Regions from separate parts of the Homo sapiens genome. Here region 1 is linked to region 2. Evidence: promoter capture Hi-C in human tissues and cell types (Jung and others, 2019). All regions are on one chromosome and are shown on one strand. Each heading gives the region's core, a stretch centred on a gene start or on the middle of the fragment in contact. The rest is flanking DNA. Distances are from core to core; before and after follow the strand shown. Region 1 holds the start of HRC (histidine rich calcium binding protein). Region 2 holds the start of IZUMO1 (izumo sperm-oocyte fusion 1).

Region 1 (6,189 bases), core at 3,690-6,189, 410 kb before region 2:
TATTTTTAGTAGAGATAGGGTTGCACCATGTTAGCCAAGCTGGTCTCGAACTCCTGACTTAGGTGATCCACCCGCCTCGGCCTCCCAGATTGTTGGGATGACAGGCGTGAGCCACAATGCCCGGCCCCAAATCGCTTTCCATGGGCCTCTCTCCAGCTCACTTTCAAATGTCACCTCACTAGCCACTCTTCCTCCCTCCAGAAACCATTAGTGACATTTTGTGTCCCCTCCCAGTCTTAAGCAAACACCTCCTCCCAGCTCTCACAGAGCCCAGTGGCTCGTCTTTGGGAGCTGCAACCCCTTGCCTTACTATAATTATCTTCTGCGTTTCTTCCTCCTCAGGCCAGACCAGAGTTTCCTAAATTGTCTTGACCACACTGACCTATCAGTAAAAAGGTTTTGAGCACTCACGTCCAACAAGCGCATATCTGTTTATTTATCCATCATTTACAAGCCATACTGCACTAATATATAGTCATAACAAAATACACACTGAAGTAGGAATGTGGATACTTCCCGCACCCCAAAAACTGTCTTGAAAAACAACTAGAGGGCTGGGCGCGGTGGCTCACACCTGTAATCCCAGTACTTTGGAAAGCCAAGGCAGGTGCATTGCCTGAGATCAAGAGTTCAAGACCAACCTGGGCAACAGGGTGAAATCCCGTCTCTACTAAAATACAAAAAATTAGCTGGGCATGGTGGTAGGCACCTGTAATCCCAGCTACTAGGGAGGCTGAGGCATGAGAACTGCTTGAACCCAGGAGGTGGATGTTGCAGTGAGCTGATATCGCAACACTGCACTCCAGCCTGGGCGACAGAGCCAGACTCTGTCTCAAAAAAACAAAAAACAAAAAACTAGAAAGCCTGGGCCAGGTGCGGTGGCTCACACCTGTAATCCTAGCGCTTTGGGAGGCCGAGGCCGGCGGATCATGAGGTCAGGAGATCGAGACCATCTGGCTAACACGGTGCAACCCCGTCTCTACTAAAAAAAAAATACAAAAAATTGGCCCAGCGCGATGGCTCACGCCTGTAATCCCAGTACTTTGAGGGGCTGAGGCGGGCGGATCACAAGGTCAGGAGATCGAGATCATCCTGGCCAACACGGTGAAACCCCGTCTCTACTAAAATACAAAAAATTAGCCGGGCGTGGTGGCGGGCGCCTGTAGTCCCAGCTACTCGGGAGGCTGAGGCAGGAAAACGGCGTGAACCCGGGAGGCGGAGCTTGCAGTGAGCCGAGATCGCGCCACTGCACTCCAGCCTGGGGGACAGAGCGAGACACCGTCTCAAAAAAAAAAAAAAAAAAAAAAAAACTAGAAAGCCTGGATCCGCTTGAGAGGCCGTCACTGAAGGGCGGGAGCTCCTCGCGGACGCACACACCCTATCTAGCTCAATTGGTGTCCCCGGCCACCAAGACAGGGCCCGCCCGCGGTAATAATTGCCACCTCCCAGTGGGAGCTGCAGATATTTCCCAGCGTCCTGTGCTGGGCGCTGTGCCAGGAATATCACAAGCATTAACTTGTTTAATTCTCATAATAACCCCAGGAGATCAAGCCTCTTTTGATGCCCAGATGAGAAACGGGACCCAGAGAGGTGAAATGATTTGCCCGAAGCCACACAGCACGTGTCCCAGGGGAAATTGGAACCCTGGCAGGGCCGTTGAATTAGGCTAAAGGGACCTTGGGAGCGCTGAGTGAGGGTTTCTTGCATGGATGGATGAATGAATGAATGAATGAATGAATGAATGAATGAAACAGAAATACCCAAAAGGGAAAGACAGAGACACAGAAAGTGACACGAAGAGACAGAAGCACATAGAAGAGACATCGGGGAGGAAAGAAGCAGAACCGAGCCCTGGAGCGTCTACACTGACCCTGAGCGGGAGAATGGCGAATGGGGAATGAGGGGTGTCTACACAGACCCAAACGCTCCTAGAGGGAGAGCGTCGGCAAGGAACGCCCTTGGGAAGGTCCCCGAGTCCAGGAATGGGGAAGGAGCAGGGCTGGGGCGTGACCATCCGCGGGCGGGGTCAGCGGGCCGCGGACCCTCTGGGGTCAGTCCAGGGGCGAACTCCTCACCCCGGATCTGTGGAGTCAACTATGAACGTCGTGCAGGTCTTCTTCTTGAAGATCTTGGGGATCCAGCTCTGGGGACAGGAACAAATGTAGGGGTGGAAGTGGGGTGAGAGGGCACCCAGTTCTGTCCTATGGGACACAGAGCCACCCACCCCGTGCGCTCCCCACGGACACAGGAGTCCGGGCCCCCAGCGCCCTCCCGCTCCAGACTCAGGAGTCTCGACCCCCATGCCCTGGACCCTGGAACCTGGACCCTCCCATCCCCCTCCTCCGTCTGACCCAGGAATCTGGGTGTCCAGCGCCCTCCTCTCTGGGAGCCTGGAGGCGAGGTCCCCAGCTCCGCGCTCCCGCAGACCCTGGTCCGGCGCTCACCTGCTCCTTCTCCGGCACCACCATGCTGCCGCGGCCGCCGCAACCTCCTGCAGCCCAGGGCCCCGGCGCTCCCTCCGCCGGCTCTGCTTCCAGACCCGCCCAGAGCAAACCGGATCCTCCACTTTCCAGCCTAGCCTGGGGCGGGGCGAGGTCTGGGGGGCGGGGAGTCTTGGAGACGCCAAAGCGGGAGGCGGGGAGAGGGCGGGTCCCAGGCCGCGATAAGGGGACAGAGGGACAGCGACCTGGGGGGTGCAGAGGTCCGGGCCGGGGGGAGAGAGACACACAGGGGAGACTCCAAGGGCAAGCGCGAGATGGGAACAGAAGGAGTTGGGGGCCAGTGGCGGAGAGGGAACAGACTCAGAAAGGAGGATGCCAGACAGGGAGGGGACAATTTAACCCAAAGAGGGGGAGACAAAGACTTAGGGGACAGAGAATCAGAAGGTGGGGCAGCAGGGACCCAGGGATAGACAGAGAGAGAGGGGGACAGAGACCCACAGAGAGAGGGGGACAGAGACCCAGGGAGAGGGGACAGAGACCCAGAGAGAGTGGGACAGAGACCCAGAGAGAGTGGGACAGAGACCCACAGAGAGAGGGGGACAGAGACCCAGGGAGAGGAGGACAGAGACCCAGAGAGGGGGGGACAGAGACCCAGAGAGGGGGGGACAGAGACCCAGGGAGGGGGGGACAGAGACCCAGGGAGAGGGGACAGAGACCCACGGAGAGGGGGACAGAGACCCAGGGAGAGGGGACAGAGACCCAGAGAGAGGGGGACAGAGACCCAGAGAGAGGGGGACAGAGACCCAGAGAGACGGGGACAGAGACCCAGAGAGAGGGGGACAGAGACCCAGAGAGAGGGGAACAGAGACCCAGAGAGAGAGGAGGACAGAGACCCAGAGAGAGGGGGACAGAGACCCAGAGAGACGGGGACAGAGACCCAGAGAGAGGGGGACAGAGACCCAGAGAGAGGGGAACAGAGACCCAGAGAGAGAGGAGGACAGAGACCCAGAGAGAGGGGGACAGAGACCCAGAGAGGGGGGGACAGAGACCCAGGGATGGGGGGACAGAGACCCAGGGAGAGGGGACAGAGACCCACGGAGAGGGGTACAGAGACCCAGGGAGAGGGGACAGAGACCCAGAGAGAGGGGGACAGAGACTCTGAGACAGAGGGGGACAGAGACCCTGAGAGAGGGGGACAGAGACCCAGAGAGAGGGGAACAGAGACCCAGAGAGAGAGGGGGACAGAGACCCACAGAGAGAGGGGAACAGAGACCCAGAGAGAGGGGGACAGAGATCCACAGAGAGAGGGGGACAGAGACCCACAGAGAGAGGGGAACAGAGACCCAGAGAGAGGGGGACAGAGATCCACAGAGAGAGGGGGACAGAGACCCAGGGAGAGGGGGACAGAGACCCAGAGAGAGGGGGACAGAGACCCAGGGAGAGGTGGACAGAGACTCTGAGACAGAGGGGGACAGAGACTCTGAGAGAGAGTGGGGACAGAGACCCAGAGAGGTGGATGCCAGAGATGGGGAGGAGACACCTTGACTGAGGCAAGGGGCAGAGGGGGATGCAAAAACCAAAGAATTGGGGGAAGGGCAGGAACTCAGAAAGGAGGGGCCAGAGATTTAGGGGAGAGAGAGGGACACAGACTTGGGGGAGGACTGACACTAAGATAAGAGTGGGACAGAAGCCCAGAGTGAGAGGGAGAGGCAATCCCATGGAGGAGGGACAGGGACCCTGAGAGAGCAGATGACAGAATTGAAGAGAGAGGAGGACCCGTGAACAGGAAAGGAGACCCTAGTGGGGGCAGTCATGAAGGGTGAGGAGTAGGAAATACTGACACACAGAGACGGGCAAGGCCACTTGTCTCCTGCCAGCCCTCTGTGATGGGGACAGCTGTGGCCTCCGTAACCTGAGTCCCCCTACCCCTCCCAGCTGTATTTATAGCCCTGGCCTAGCCCAGTCCCTGCCCCCAGATCTGAGTTCCAGGGACAGGAGGTCATGGGCACGTGTGTTGGGGGCCATGTTCCTTTCCCCCCATTCTAGGGCCTCAATACTGACATCACTCTCTCACCAGCACGTATCATTCCAGCTGGAAACACCCCGCAATCGAACCCCCAGTCCTTCCGTCCCAGGAGTCTCTCCCCTCTGATAAGTCTCTTCTGCCTCCCCCAGGTGCCCCAGGCTCCCCCAAAAACCTGCTAAAAGTCTAGCCTTTGTCTTTGCAGCTGCCAAACGTGAGCTTGTTGGTAGTTCAAAGTCAAGTCCCTTGGCCACCGTCTCCTGGCCAGGGAGAGACCCCTCACTGGTCCCCTCCCCAGCTGGGAGGAGGAGGAGCAGGAGGCAGGCAGGCGGGGACTGACCCAGAATAACTCAGGGCTGAGAGTAAATTTAGCTGGAGAGAGGGGAGGGGAAGGACCCTATTGGCTGGGGAATGGGGAGGGAGGGCCCCAGAGGGGGGTCAGGGGGCTCCGGAGACAGCCTCAGAGGGGTGTCCAGAGCCAGGCAGCAAGGACCAGAGGAAGGTGGACAGAGACCGAAAGGACAAAGGAGAGACACAGAGAAAAAAAGAGACCAACCCCAAAGGGACAAAGACCCCAACGTTTGTCCACATTGCCGCAGAGGCAGCTGGAGCCAGTGCTGCCTGTCCGTCCCCATGGGCCACCATAGGCCATGGCTGCACGCTTCTGTCCTCTGGGCTGGGGTGGCCAGCCTGCTCCTCCCCCCGGCCATGACCCAGCAGCTCAGAGGGGATGGGCTAGGCTTCAGAAACCGGAACAACAGCACTGGAGTCGCCGGGCTCTCCGAGGAGGCATCAGCAGAGCTTCGCCACCACCTCCACAGCCCTAGAGACCATCCAGATGAGAACAAGGATGTTTCCACAGAGAATGGGCATCATTTCTGGAGCCACCCAGACCGTGAAAAGGAGGATGAAGATGTCTCCAAGGAATATGGGCACCTACTCCCAGGCCACAGGTCCCAAGACCACAAAGTCGGAGATGAGGGTGTCTCAGGTGAGGAGGTCTTTGCAGAGCATGGTGGGCAGGCCCGTGGGCACAGAGGCCACGGGAGTGAAGACACGGAAGACTCAGCTGAGCACAGGCACCACCTCCCCAGCCACAGGAGCCACAGCCATCAAGACGAGGATGAGGATGAAGTTGTGTCCAGTGAGCATCACCATCATATCCTCAGGCATGGACACCGAGGCCATGATGGGGAAGATGATGAAGGAGAAGAGGAGGAGGAGGAGGAGGAGGAGGAAGAGGAGGCCTCCACTGAGTATGGACACCAGGCCCACAGGCACCGAGGCCATGGGAGTGAAGAGGATGAGGATGTCTCAGATGGACACCATCATCATGGCCCCAGCCACAGGCACCAAGGCCATGAAGAAGATGACGATGATGATGATGATGATGATGATGATGATGATGATGATGATGTCTCCATTGAATATAGACACCAGGCTCACAGGCACCAAGGCCACGGGATTGAAGAGGATGAAGATGTCTCAGATGGACACCATCATCGCGACCCCAGCCACAGGCACCGAAGCCATGAAGAAGATGACAATGATGATGATGATGTCTCCACTGAGTATGGACACCAGGCCCACAGGCACCAAGACCACAGAAAGGAAGAGGTTGAGGCTGTCTCAGGTGAACACCACCATCATGTCCCTGACCACAGGCACCAAGGCCACAGAGACGAGGAAGAAGATGAGGATGTGTCCACTGAACGTTGGCACCAG
Region 2 (6,995 bases), core at 3,995-6,494:
GGAACCTGGACCACTTTCTTTTTTTTTTTTTTTTTTTTTTTTTAAGACAGGGTCCCTCTCTGTCGCGCAAGCTGGAGTGCAGTCAGCGGTGCTATCGCGGCTCATTGTGAGCTCCGGGGATCCTCCCGCCTTAGCATCCGGTGTAGCTGAGACCACAGACATGTGCCACCATGCCAAGCTAATTTTATTTATTTTTTTTTGGAGACGGAGTTTCACTCTTGTTGCCCAGGCTGGAGTGTAATGGCATGATCTCAGCTCACCGCAACTCCCGCCCCCCGGGTTCAGGCGATTCTCCTGCCTCAGCCTCCCGAGTGGCTGGGATTACAGGCATGCGCCACCATGCCCGGCTAATTTTGTATTTTAAGTAGAGACAGGGTTTCTCCACGTTGGTCAGGCTGGTCTCGAACTCCCAACCTCAGGTGATCCACCCACCTTGGCCTCCCAAAGTGCTGGGGTTACAGGTGTGAGCCACCGCGCCTGGCCCATGCCAAGCTAATTTTAAAATTTTTTTGTAAGAGTGCTCTGTTGCCCAGGCTGATCTTGAACTCCTGGGCTCAAGGGATCCTCCCATCTCAGCCTCCCAATATGCTGGGATTACAGGTGTGAGCCACAGTGCCCAGCCAAACCATGGCTATCTTGAAAACCACTTGTCTTCCAGTCCCCATGCCCCGAAATTCCAAGGCTCTCATCCCTGAAACCTAGGACTCAGGCTCTCCCTACCTCAGCCCCAGGAGTCTAAACCTTTAACTTCCTCTTTCCCTGGGACTAAGGAGTGCTGCACCCCAGGCGCCTCCCTTACCCCACATCCCTCCTCAGCCTCCCCTCCTCAGCCTCAGAGCATTTGCTAATTCGCCTTTCCTCCCCTGCAGCCATGTGGCTCCGGAGCCATCGTCAGCTCTGCCTGGCCTTCCTGCTAGTCTGTGTCCTCTCTGTAATCTTCTTCCTCCATATCCATCAAGACAGCTTTCCACATGGCCTAGGCCTGTCGATCCTGTGTCCAGACCGCCGCCTGGTGACACCCCCAGTGGCCATCTTCTGCCTGCCGGGTACTGCGATGGGCCCCAACGCCTCCTCTTCCTGTCCCCAGCACCCTGCTTCCCTCTCCGGCACCTGGACTGTCTACCCCAATGGCCGGTTTGGTAATCAGATGGGACAGTATGCCACGCTGCTGGCTCTGGCCCAGCTCAACGGCCGCCGGGCCTTTATCCTGCCTGCCATGCATGCCGCCCTGGCCCCGGTATTCCGCATCACCCTGCCCGTGCTGGCCCCAGAAGTGGACAGCCGCACGCCGTGGCGGGAGCTGCAGCTTCACGACTGGATGTCGGAGGAGTACGCGGACTTGAGAGATCCTTTCCTGAAGCTCTCTGGCTTCCCCTGCTCTTGGACTTTCTTCCACCATCTCCGGGAACAGATCCGCAGAGAGTTCACCCTGCACGACCACCTTCGGGAAGAGGCGCAGAGTGTGCTGGGTCAGCTCCGCCTGGGCCGCACAGGGGACCGCCCGCGCACCTTTGTCGGCGTCCACGTGCGCCGTGGGGACTATCTGCAGGTTATGCCTCAGCGCTGGAAGGGTGTGGTGGGCGACAGCGCCTACCTCCGGCAGGCCATGGACTGGTTCCGGGCACGGCACGAAGCCCCCGTTTTCGTGGTCACCAGCAACGGCATGGAGTGGTGTAAAGAAAACATCGACACCTCCCAGGGCGATGTGACGTTTGCTGGCGATGGACAGGAGGCTACACCGTGGAAAGACTTTGCCCTGCTCACACAGTGCAACCACACCATTATGACCATTGGCACCTTCGGCTTCTGGGCTGCCTACCTGGCTGGCGGAGACACTGTCTACCTGGCCAACTTCACCCTGCCAGACTCTGAGTTCCTGAAGATCTTTAAGCCGGAGGCGGCCTTCCTGCCCGAGTGGGTGGGCATTAATGCAGACTTGTCTCCACTCTGGACATTGGCTAAGCCTTGAGAGCCAGGGAGACTTTCTGAAGTAGCCTGATCTTTCTAGAGCCAGCAGTACGTGGCTTCAGAGGCCTGGCATCTTCTGGAGAAGCTTGTGGTGTTCCTGAAGCAAATGGGTGCCCGTATCCAGAGTGATTCTAGTTGGGAGAGTTGGAGAGAAGGGGGACGTTTCTGGAACTGTCTGAATATTCTAGAACTAGCAAAACATCTTTTCCTGATGGCTGGCAGGCAGTTCTAGAAGCCACAGTGCCCACCTGCTCTTCCCAGCCCATATCTACAGTACTTCCAGATGGCTGCCCCCAGGAATGGGGAACTCTCCCTCTGGTCTACTCTAGAAGAGGGGTTACTTCTCCCCTGGGTCCTCCAAAGACTGAAGGAGCATATGATTGCTCCAGAGCAAGCATTCACCAAGTCCCCTTCTGTGTTTCTGGAGTGATTCTAGAGGGAGACTTGTTCTAGAGAGGACCAGGTTTGATGCCTGTGAAGAACCCTGCAGGGCCCTTATGGACAGGATGGGGTTCTGGAAATCCAGATAACTAAGGTGAAGAATCTTTTTAGTTTTTTTTTTTTTTTTTTGGAGACAGGGTCTCGCTCTGTTGCCCAGGCTGGAGTGCAGTGGCGTGATCTTGGCTCACTGCAACTTCCGCCTCCTGTGTTCAAGCGATTCTCCTGTCTCAGCCTCCTGAGTAGATGGGACTACAGGCACAGGCCATTATGCCTGGCTAATTTTTGTATTTTTAGTAGAGACAGGGTTTCACCATGTTGGCCAGGATGGTCTCGATCTCCTGACCTTGTCATCCACCTGTCTTGGCCTCCCAAAGTGCTGGGATTACTGGCATGAGCCACTGTGCCCAGCCCGGATATTTTTTTTTTAATTATTTATTTATTTATTTATTTATTGAGACGGAGTCTTGCTCTGTAGCCCAGGCCAGAGTGCAGTGGCGCGATCTCAGCTCACTGCAAGCTCTGCCTCCCGGGTTCATGCCATTCTGCCTCAGCCTCCTGAGTAGCTGGGACTACAGGCGCCCGCCACCACGCCCGGCTAATTTTTTTTGTATTTTTAGTAGAGACGGGGTTTCATCGTGTTAACCAGGATGGTCTCGATCTCCTGACCTCGTGATCTGCCCACCTCGGCCTCCCACAGTGCTGGGATTACCGGCGTGAGCCACCATGCCTGGCCCGGATAATTTTTTTTAATTTTTGTAGAGACGAGGTCTTGTGATATTGCCCAGGCTGTTCTTCAACTCCTGGGCTCAAGCAGTCCTCCCACCTTGGCCTCCCAGAATGCTGGGTTTATAGATGTGAGCCAGCACACCGGGCCAAGTGAAGAATCTAATGAATGTGCAACCTAATTGTAGCATCTAATGAATGTTCCACCATTGCTGGAAAAATTGAGATGGAAAACAAACCATCTCTAGTTGGCCAGCGTCTTGCTCTGTTCACAGTCTCTGGAAAAGCTGGGGTAGTTGGTGAGCAGAGCGGGACTCTGTCCAACAAGCCCCACAGCCCCTCAAAGACTTTTTTTTGTTTGTTTTGAGCAGACAGGCTAAAATGTGAACGTGGGGTGAGGGATCACTGCCAAAATGGTACAGCTTCTGGAGCAGAACTTTCCAGGGATCCAGGGACACTTTTTTTTAAAGCTCATAAACTGCCAAGAGCTCCATATATTGGGTGTGAGTTCAGGTTGCCTCTCACAATGAAGGAAGTTGGTCTTTGTCTGCAGGTGGGCTGCTGAGGGTCTGGGATCTGTTTTCTGGAAGTGTGCAGGTATAAACACACCCTCTGTGCTTGTGACAAACTGGCAGGTACCGTGCTCATTGCTAACCACTGTCTGTCCCTGAACTCCCAGAACCACTACATCTGGCTTTGGGCAGGTCTGAGATAAAACGATCTAAAGGTAGGCAGACCCTGGACCCAGCCTCAGATCCAGGCAGGAGCACGAGGTCTGGCCAAGGTGGACGGGGTTGTCGAGATCTCAGGAGCCCCTTGCTGTTTTTTGGAGGGTGAAAGAAGAAACCTTAAACATAGTCAGCTCTGATCACATCCCCTGTCTACTCATCCAGACCCCATGCCTGTAGGCTTATCAGGGAGTTACAGTTACAATTGTTACAGTACTGTTCCCAACTCAGCTGCCACGGGTGAGAGAGCAGGAGGTATGAATTAAAAGTCTACAGCACTAACCCGTGTCTCTGTAGCTTTTTTGGAGCCAGAGCCACTGTGTATGTGTGTGTGGGTTTGTGTGTGTGTGTGTGTGTGTGTGTGTGTAAGAGAGTGGAGGAAAAGGTGGGGTACTTCTGAAGACTTTTATTTTTTTTTAATTAATTTATTTTTTTTCAGAGATCGAGTCTTGCTCTGTGGCCCAGGCTGGAGTGCAGTAGTGTGATCTCGGCCCACTGCAAACTCCCACCTCTCGGATTCTGGTGCCTCAGCCTCCCAAGTAGCTGGGACTACAGACGTTCGCCACCATGCCCAGCTAATTTTTGTATTTTTAGTAGAGACGGGGTTTCACCATGTTAGCCAGGCTGGCCTCGAACTCCTGACCTCAGACAATCTGCCCGCCTCGGCCTCCCAAAGCGCTGGAATTACAAGCGTGAGCCACCGCGCCGGGCCCTGAGGATTTTTATTACTCGTGATTGGGAGTACTGTCCCTACTTAGATCTGACAGCCCCTTGTTGCTGGACTTGTGTGAGTTGTGGTCCCTGTTTTTCTGGTTCCCTGTTTCTATCACACAGGAGAGAGAGACCTTCCAGGACCCTAACGTCTGAGCCCCCAGTTGCTCACTCCTGGACTGTCAGTATTGGCCCCCAGTCCTCTCCTCCCACTGGGACCTCCGCGTGGGCAGAAGAGGCGGAGGAGGGAGCGGATTATCACTGAACTACATTTCCCGGAAAGCTATGAGGTTGGCAGCGTCAGTCAGCTACAGAGAAAGAGGCCCCAGGGCATTTTGGGAGTTGTAGTCTTAGGGCTAAAATGTCCACTTCGTGGCTCGACAGCCGTTTCCAAGGACCGCGGTGGGGGCGGCAGCGGCCTGGGGGGCCGGATCTAGCCCAAAGCCTGGGTCCTGGGGCAAGGGGAGGGGAGGAAACTGAAGGCCTGAGTCCGGTCCTTGACTCTGGAAGCCAGAGTAGTCAGGAGGCTTCCTCTTCCCTAGATGCTGGGAAAATTCTAGTCCAAAAAGGCTGCAGCCTCTGTGACGTCATGGAGCGATGGGCGGGACCTCCCTTTGTTGCAGTCCAATCAGACAGAGTTGAGTTTCTGGGTGGGGCCGAGGAAAACCCCAAGGAATATCTATAAAGGAATTCGGGCCCCTACGTGAGAAGCTCGGAGGGGGTGGTTTCAGGAGTTCCTTGTGGAGAGGGGATCGTCCGTGACTCAGACCCCGTCGAAAAGCTCTCGATTTCACGCAACCAACCTTACCCTCGTCCCCAACACAATCCTTGATTTTACCCCTGGGAAAATTAGCGTAGGTGGTCATGACCCCGGCTTCCTCTTTAAAAGCCCTCAGAACCTGGACCGGGCTCCTCAATGAACCCTAGTGTTAGAGGCCACAAATCGGGAACCAAGGTCGGGGAGCGGCTGTTTAGGGTGCATCACTGTTCAGGATGCATCGGGGCTCCTTTTTCTAAGCGGAAGGGTGCGCCCTGCAAATTGGGAGCCCGTTAGTTTTGGGGAAGGGTGAACAAGGGCCCCCTAGGTCTAGAGGACCGCATGGAGTCTCGCTTAAGTGTTAGTGGGGTCCTCAGTTCTAGGAATCTGGTATGTGTTTTGGTTTTGAAGGAGTTCCGAGTTTGATAATATCGTGGTTGGGTCTGTGTTAGATGTTTATTGGTTTGGGCATTGAATCTTCAGCTTGAGGTTCAACAGGTTTTGGGGGGCTGGCGGGGGAGTGCCTCGGTGTTGCTCTTAAGGGTTGGAGTTCAGGCTCACGTCAATCTGGGGACTTGGAAAATTCCACAGTTTGGGATTTTGGGAAGGGGCGCATGGGGTTGGGAGATTCCAGGTTCTGAGTTTGGGGACTTATGAGTGATTCCTGTTTAATAGTTTTTCTGATCTCTCAGTTGGGGGATTCAGTGAGAACCCTAAATTTTGGGTCCCCTGGATTGGGGCTCAGTTTCACACTTCGGAGGCATTTGATGAAGGACATAGGTCCTCTTTATTTGGAGATTTCCTGAAGATCCTCTTTTCGAGGTTTGCGGACCCCATGGATAGGCGGCCCAGTGGGATTTCTTAAGATGGATTTTGGCTTTTCTCCGTTTAGCGTTCTCCTGCTCTCGGTTTGGGGTGAGAGCACCCTTCCTAACGGTCTTCGGGAACTGTGCGCGCCGGCTGCAATGGGGCCGCATTTTACCCTCCTGTGTGCGGCGCTGGCCGGTTGCTTGCTTCCTGCCGAGGGGTGTGTTATATGTGACCCGTCTGTCGTGCTGGCGCTAAAGTCCCTGGAGAAAGATTACCTGCCTGGCCACCTGGATGCGAAGCATCACAAAGCCATGATGGAAAGGGTAGAGAATGCCGTGAAGGATTTCCAGGAACTGTCGCTTAATGAGGATGCCTATATGGGGGTCGTTGGTGAGGGCAGGGGGGACCACGGACCCCTGGGTCCTGGGAAAGGAGGGAGATAAGACCAGGGGAAGGAAGAGGCTGACAGCAGGGTCTCCGGGATTCGGGAATGGAGAAGGCTGAGATGCAGATTCCGAGGTTCCCCGAGGCTAGTAAATACCGTTTTCCCTATCCTCGGCTGGCAATTTTATGTAATAAAACTACAACTCCCAGAAGGCAACGGGCGGCTGAGTCCTTAACCAGGCCTATCTTTGCCCAGTGGCCTCATGGGTATTGTAGTTTCTAAGATTAGGCGCGCCAATGAGACAGTAAGGCTGGAATCTGGGGTTATATCTCCTCTGACAGATGAGGCCACACTGCAAAAGGGGTCCTGGAGTTTGCTGAAGGATCTGAAACGCATCACAGACAGTGATGTAAAAGGTAAATGCATCAAGGGGGTGGGAGTCCCGAATCTCTCAGAGAAGCCAGCGTTAGTG

Evidence for each region. The method cuts DNA at HindIII sites, captures the fragments that hold promoters and counts their contacts. A contact is called where the count stands out against the background at its distance.
Region 1: a contact is called between the fragment with the promoter of HRC here and the fragment with the promoter of IZUMO1 in region 2, in 1 of the 25 tissues and cell types used here (lymphoblastoid cells).

Annotation. Positions count from the first base shown.
Region 1 is chr19:49,154,146-49,160,334 of GRCh38, reverse strand. It overlaps HRC (histidine rich calcium binding protein), which reads left to right and starts at 4,939. Exons shown (of 6, transcript NM_002152.3): 1 at 4,939-6,189. The coding sequence starts at 5,098. It overlaps TRPM4 (transient receptor potential cation channel subfamily M member 4), which reads right to left and starts at 2,543. Exons shown (of 25, transcript NM_017636.4): 1 at 2,445-2,543; 2 at 2,076-2,143. The coding sequence starts at 2,468. RefSeq lists a silencer at 1,318-1,504 and an enhancer at 2,188-2,809. The HindIII fragment of the contact is 31,868 bases long and covers 1-6,189 here.
Region 2 is chr19:48,745,158-48,752,152 of GRCh38, reverse strand. IZUMO1 (izumo sperm-oocyte fusion 1) reads left to right here and starts at 5,244. Exons shown (of 10, transcript NM_182575.3): 1 at 5,244-5,718; 2 at 6,221-6,528; 3 at 6,865-6,939. The coding sequence starts at 6,294. It overlaps FUT1 (fucosyltransferase 1 (H blood group)), which reads left to right. Exons shown (of 2, transcript NM_001384359.1): 2 at 870-4,142. The coding sequence starts at 872. The coding sequence ends at 1,969. RefSeq lists enhancers at 516-1,155, 4,178-4,963, 4,964-5,749 and a cis regulatory region at 6,525-6,995. The HindIII fragment of the contact is 12,211 bases long and covers 1-6,986 here.